Linked DNA regions of Homo sapiens: region 2 is linked to region 1. Evidence: promoter capture Hi-C in human tissues and cell types (Jung and others, 2019). All regions are on one chromosome and are shown on one strand. Each heading gives the region's core, a stretch centred on a gene start or on the middle of the fragment in contact. The rest is flanking DNA. Distances are from core to core; before and after follow the strand shown. Region 1 holds the start of PTGFRN (prostaglandin F2 receptor inhibitor). Region 2 has its middle 26 kb from the start of CD2.

Region 1 (3,265 bases), core at 748-3,247:
AAGCGTTCTGGGTGGTTAAGAAAAGGAAAGATGGAGGATGAGCTGAAATCTGAGCTTCTGAAGGTGCCAGGCCTCACATTTCTCTGAAGCTCCACTACCTTCCAAGGCCTAACATTAGGCTTGAATTCAAGGTTGATTGAATGAAATTGGGAAACTTCCCTGCGAGATTCTAGGGAAGAATTGGGATGGGGAAGAGAAAGGAATTACAGTGTGTATGAACAGAACCAGGAAAGGCTTGGCGGCAGAAATAAATTTTAAAAAAATTATTGTGTAAAATGTACATAGCACAAAATTTACCATTTTAACCTTAAAAATTTTTTTTTAGAGACGGTGTCTCACAATGTTGCCCGAGTGGTCTCAAACTTCTAGCCTCAAATAAAAAAAAAAAAGAAAGAAAAAAGAAAAAGAAGAAAAAGTGCCAGCCCAGTGGCTCAGACCTGTAATCCCAGTCTTTGGGGAGGCCGAGGCGGGAGAATCGCTTGAGCCCAGGAGCTCGAGACCCGCCTGGCCAACATAGGGAGACTCCAGTGTCTACAAAAAATAAAAACAATTAGCGAGAGTGTGGTGGCACACATCTGTGGTTCCAGCTACTTGAGAGGTGGAGGTGGGAGGATTGCTTGAGCCTGGGAGGTCAAGGCAGCAGTGATCCCTGATCGCACCACTGCACTCCGGCCTGGGTGACAGATCCTCATTTTGAGACCCTGTCTCAAAAATGAAAGAAAGAAAGAAGACAAAACAAATAAAAACTCCTGGCCTCAAGCAACACCATCCCTGCCCCCCGCCTCCCCCTGCCCCCCCAACCTCAGCCTTCTGAGTAGCTAGCATTACAAGTACCAGTTACCAGGCCTGGCAATTTTAAACATTTCTAAGTGTACCATTCAGTGGCATTAAGTACAATAACGTTGCACCACCAGGAATGAATTTTTAAGTCTCTTTCCAAAGATACCTGGCTAATCACACATTTGATAGTGGGGAAATAAGAAACATTTGTTGGTTGAAAGACGGATGCATGAGAGTAAAAGCAGTGTTCTTCCCCAGTGTGGGCAGTTTCCGCATAAGCATCTGCGATCCGTTTTGCATGTGAATGAAAGCCCAGTGACGGGCAGTGGGCACCAGTGCTGCTCCTTGCGTGTTTGAATCATGCTTGCTAAGTTTCAAGCAAGGAATGCTCCATTTCTCCCAACCAAGTCGGGCCTTTTGTATTCAAATCAAAAGCACAAAACTCTATTGTAGGGGGAAAAATGAGTCTTTATTGGCAATCAGTGGTGTCCACTTAGAGCAATAAATATTAAGTCTTAAGAGTACATTCTATATGAAGTACTATAGCTATTAATACACTTGGGTTTTGTTTGTTTTTTAAATGGGTGTCTTTGTGGGGTGCTGTTCTAATCAGTGCCACAGGCGCCGAGGAGAGGGAGGGAGCTGGGTAAGGAAGGAGACAGGCCCACCCTAGCCACCGGGGAGTGGGCAGAGTCAGGAGAGCGGGGTTCTGATTTTGCCCCTTCCCTGTGAATCCTTGGGCACCTCACCGAAACACTTAAGGCCTCTGTATGGTAGAGGTTGGAATCCGTGGCCTTTAAAAGTCCTTTCAGCTCCTTCGCTCCTATCTGCATAATTTTTGGCATAGGCCAAGCGGCTGGTTGGTGGGGTGTTTAGCTCAGGACGAGAGGCCGAACGAGCGGGGAGTTGGCTGAGGATAGACTAGACACGCGTGGGTGACTCCAGCGTGATGGAACGCGGGGTGTCCCGGGATAGGGCTAAAGCGATGGGATTTCCAGACGAGTCTTTCCCAGGCCAACTTTTAAAGGTCGGAGGAAAGTTTCTCGTGGGGTGGGGGCCCAGAGGGGATGGCAGGGTGGGCTCCGACGCCTCCTCGCCTTTAAGCGGGTGGCCCCGGCTCTTCCTCCGTTACCTGGAGCGGGGAGGGGCTTGGGAAAGTTTGTGTTTGTTGCTGGCAAAGCGCCGGATGGGAGGCGCGGGCGGGCGCTGCGGTTCTTCCCTTCTGCTTTCGGGAAGCGGTCGGGGCTGCACACTCGGATCGGCGGGGCCGGCTCCCGGGCCCGGCCGGCTGGAGGAGGGAGGGAAGGAGGCGGGAGGGAGCGAGCGGAGCCAGGGGCGCACGTACGCCCCAGCGCTGGGATTTATCGGCTCGCGAGGAGAGCGGAGCAGGCGCGCGGCCCAGGCGGAGGAGCGCCGACTCTGGAGCAGCCGGAGCTGGAAGAGGAGGAGGAGGAGAGGCGGCGGGGAAGGAGGAGGAGGGGGAGAGTCGCTCCCGCCGGGCGAGCATGGGGCGCCTGGCCTCGAGGCCGCTGCTGCTGGCGCTCCTGTCGTTGGGTGAGTGTGCGCGGGGCTCAGCGGGGCACACGGGGACTGGCGAGGCCCTGGAGGGCTCGGCGGGGCGCGGCTGCAGCGCGCGGCCTGGGGCGCCGAGGGTGCCCGGGCTGCTCCCGGGAAACCCGGCCGGGGTGCGCGGGTTGTTCGGCCCGGCGGGGAGCGGCCGCGGGGCCGCCCGGAGCCTGGCGCGAATCCGCTCGGGCCCCGCGCGCGGGGTGCAAGTGGCCGCTCCGCCAGGCCGAGCCTCGCCCCCAACATGTGCCGGGGGGAGTGGCCCGGGGCCGTCTTTCCCCCAGGTCTCCCTACCTGTTGGCCGCCGGGAGCCCGGCTCACCTTGAACTCCCGGCCCGGAAGGTGCTGCGGTCCCGGCCCGGGTCCTCGGCTCGAGAGCGGAAATGTGAGCCTTTGATATGCCCCGCCATAGCCGCCGCCGGCCGGGTCGCTCTTCACCCAACCCGCGCGGAGTTGCCTTTCCAGGGAAGCGAGAGAATCCTCCAACTTCCTTCCACGAAGGTCACAGGGTGGCCCGGAGCGTTACAATGGAAATCGGCGGGCGAGTCCTGCCGTCATTTTCGTCGTGGCTAGATCTTCTGCCTCAGTCTTTTCTTTTAGCTTTTCTTGAAGCTGCCTAGCTGCGTATTTATACACAAAGACCTAAAAGCCTGGCTTCTCCAACTTTTTCTACCTGTTACTTTCCCTCCCTTACTATCCCCTCGTCTTCCACCCTCCGGAAACCCTGGGTGCCCCGTGAGGTTTTGGCCCAGCGCCCTCCCCCCACCCAAGGAATCTTTTGTGGGTTTTTTCCCTCTCCATTTTCCATTCACTCCATACACAGACACCATCTTCACGTAGATCCACATGGTGATCCTAGCCAGCCACGGAAATATGTTTATTAAGTGCCCACCATGGTACCCCAGGGCCGACTCTTAAA
Region 2 (3,508 bases), core at 975-3,474, 130 kb before region 1:
GTGGGGGATTGGTTCCAGAACCCCCATATATATATCCACGTCTGCACATGCTCAAGTCCTGCAGTTGGCCCTGTAGAACCCACCCATGTATATGAAAAGTCGGCTGCCTGTATGTGTGGGTTTCATATCCCACAAATACCATATTTTTTATCTAATTTGGTTGAAAAAAATCTGCATATAAGTGGACCCCTGCAGTTCACACTCAAGTTTTCAAAGGGTCTACTGTACATTGAATTTTACATACAGACAAATTGACATGAAACATGAAGATACAATTTAAAAATTCTGGACTTAACAACCATAGTTTCTGGTATACAAAATCTCAGAACCTATGTCATACAAAAACTTACTTTGAAAAACCCTTGGAAGAAATATTCAAATTAGAGGAAAATAAATACAACAGATGTTGTATAGAAATGTGAAGTTAGGGTGATTAAATAATTTGGCAAATTAATTGTTATCTTAAAAAATCAAAGTGTGATGAAAACACAAATTAAAAACCATATTCATAAAAACCCAGAACTAAATTCTGTCTAGACCATATCAGTTGTGTGTGTGTTATTGTTGTTGTTGTTATATGTATTGGTGGGGGAGAGAGAAAGAAGAGTCCAGAGACATAAGAGAACATGCTAAACTACTTGCCTTATTGGAGGAAAGAAATAGGTATTTATAAGTTTAGTAAGTCAGGATGAATAAATAAACAAATATGTCTTAAGAGCAAAGACCATAAAAACAAAAATAAAATACGTTCTTTTAAACCAGCAAAAGAAAATCGTATCTACTCAGTGAAGAGTAAAATTAGAAAAGAAAAAAAAGTATCAGTAATGAAAAACATGAAATAAAATGGAAGAAATAAGTAATAATATAAAGTGATTATGAGAAATGTAAATAGGTTAAACAACCAATCAAAAGAGAACATCTCAAATTGAGCATTTTGAAAGATCCAACAATATACTGTTTACAGAAGACAACTTTACAACAAAAGAATACAAAAAGTTTGAAAATAAAGAAAATATGATCCAAAAGAAAGCTGAAGCAACAATCTTAATATCTAATAGAAAAATTCAAAGGACAAAAAAGGAAACCATACTTGTTGAAAGAATAGTAGAGCAAACACATATGCACCTGACAATATTGCAACAAAAAAATAAGGTAATCGACAGAACTTCATAGCAAATAAATAAATTAATCATTTTAATTGGAAGTTTTAACACAAAAAAATTATTGAGGAGGAAATGGAGTCTTCAGAAATGAATAGGTTTAGCAGAGAAAAAGCAGTGATATAGAAATCTGAGTATTTTAATTAATAAGCTTTATTTATATCCAACAGAAAACACACAATCTTTTTGGGCATATATGAAACAATTTTAAAAATTAATCATATATTAATCCACAAAGAAAGTTACAAGAAAGTCTAATGAATGAATGTTATCAAGAATATATTTTTCAATCATAATGAATTAAAATTATAAAATATTTTTCAAAAGCATAGTGAAAAAACTGTTAGATTACTAGAGAACATTTTTCCAAAACTATGTTATTTCTAGAAATAGAATTTTTTTCTAGAAATGCATTATTTCTAGAAAACCCAGAAAACAATTATTAATAGTTGGTCTAACAGTAAAATGAAAGTTCTGATAATAAAATAATAATAACAAATGAAGCTAATAAATATATAAAACTGGTAATGAAAACACTTCAAAATTTGAAGACCACATCTACAGTAGGTTTTAGAGACAGATGTATAGCTTTAATTACATTTATCAAGATATAAGACAGATTGAAAACAAAGAGTAATACTCAAGAATACAGGGAAGGGACAAGCAAAGAAACAGAAAGAAAGAAATAATAACAAAGATAGAACAGATATCAATGACCTAGAGAAAAACAACAACAAAACAGAGAAGATTAATAAAACCTTAAACTGGTGTTTCAGAAAGATTAATAAGATAGATGTGACAAGGCTACTAAAGTGAAAAAAAAAGAGGTAGAAAGTACAAATTTAAAAACTGAATGCAAATGGGGAAATAACCACAGACACAGCAGAGGTTTTAAAATTAATAATTAATATTGTAATAATTATACAATACAAATTTAATTAATAATTAAAATGTAATAAATTAATACATTTTTAAAAGTACTGGCTGGGAGCGATGGCTCACGCCTATAATCCCCAGCACTTTGGGAGGTTGAGGCGGGCAGATCACGAGGTCAGGAGATCGAGACTATCCTGGCTAACACGGTGAAACCCTGTCTCTACTAAAAAAAACAAAGTACAAAAAATTAGCCTGGCATGGTGGTGGGCCGCTGTAGTCCCAGCTACTCGGGAGGCTGAGGCAAGAGAATGGCATGAACCCAGGAGGTGAAGCTTGCAGTGAGCCGAGATCGTGCCACTGCAATCCAGCCTGGGGGATAGAGGGAGACTCCGTCTCAAAAAAATAAATAAATAAATAAAATAAAAGTACAAGCCCTTCTGACATATAAATGTAGATGCAAAAATTCTAGATGAAATATTAACAAACAAATTCAACACTATATTTTTAAAAACATATCATGATGAAGTGGAGTTTATCCCAGCAATGTAAGGAAATGGCAACATAAAAATAACCTACCAATAAAATTACAACATTAATAGTCTAAAGGAGAAAAATCATGATTATATTAACGTATGCATGGATGGAAGGGGTAAAACCAAATATTTACTCAAAAGCCTTAACAGGCTAGGAATAGAAGCTCTTGCCATCATTGCTAACAGGCCCCCTTCTAATGATGAAAGTTTACCTGGACACATGGTTGTGAAGTTAAGACTACGTTTTCCATCCACTCTTTTTTTTTTTTTTTTTTTTTGAAACTGAGGTTTGCTGTGTCACCCAGGCTGGAGCACAGTGGCACAATCACTGCAGCCTCGACCTCCTCAGCTCAGGTGATCCTCCCACCTCAGCCTCCCAAGTAGCTGGGACCACAGGTGCATGCCACATCTGGCTAATTTTTAAATTATCATTATTTGTAGAGACGGGGTCTCCCTATGTCGCCAGGCTGGTCTCAACCTTCTGGGCTCGAGCGATCCTCTGCCTTAGCTTCCCAAAAGTACTGGGATTATAGAACTGAGTTATTGTGCCTGGCCCCATCCACTCTTGCTATGTATTAAATAGACTCTGGTCAAAGGGATACATTTTGAGCATCTGGCACTGCTGAGTCAAATGAACAAATCGTACAGCATTTGGCATCAAAAAATTCACTCCTGGCTATACATTAACACATCTTAGAGAAGTACCCACACGGACCCATAATGTCTGTTCTTGTAAAGAATTGTAGGTACTCTAGGTCATGACCAGGAGAATGGATAAGTAAAATTTGGTACTTGCATGGAATGTTTTGTTGTTGTTGTTGTTGTTGTTGTTGTTGTTGTTGTTTTGAGGCGGAGTCTCGCTCTGTTGCCCAGGCTGGAGTGCAGTGGTGCAATCTCAGGTCACTGCAAGAGACAGGGTTTCACGGTGTTAGCCAGGAT

The links. Contacts are between HindIII fragments. The study calls those that stand out against the background at their distance.
Region 2: a fragment that was not itself captured here is called in contact with the fragment with the promoter of PTGFRN in region 1 in 1 of the 25 tissues and cell types used here (mesenchymal stem cells).

The regions. Positions count from the first base shown.
Region 1 is chr1:116,907,919-116,911,183 of GRCh38, forward strand. It overlaps PTGFRN (prostaglandin F2 receptor inhibitor), which reads left to right and starts at 1,998. Exons shown (of 9, transcript NM_020440.4): 1 at 1,998-2,334. The coding sequence starts at 2,286. The HindIII fragment of the contact is 8,899 bases long and covers 1-3,265 here.
Region 2 is chr1:116,779,130-116,782,637 of GRCh38, forward strand. No RefSeq gene overlaps it. Among named protein-coding and RNA genes, the nearest start is that of CD2, 26 kb to the left of the region's middle. The HindIII fragment of the contact is 4,325 bases long and covers 63-3,508 here.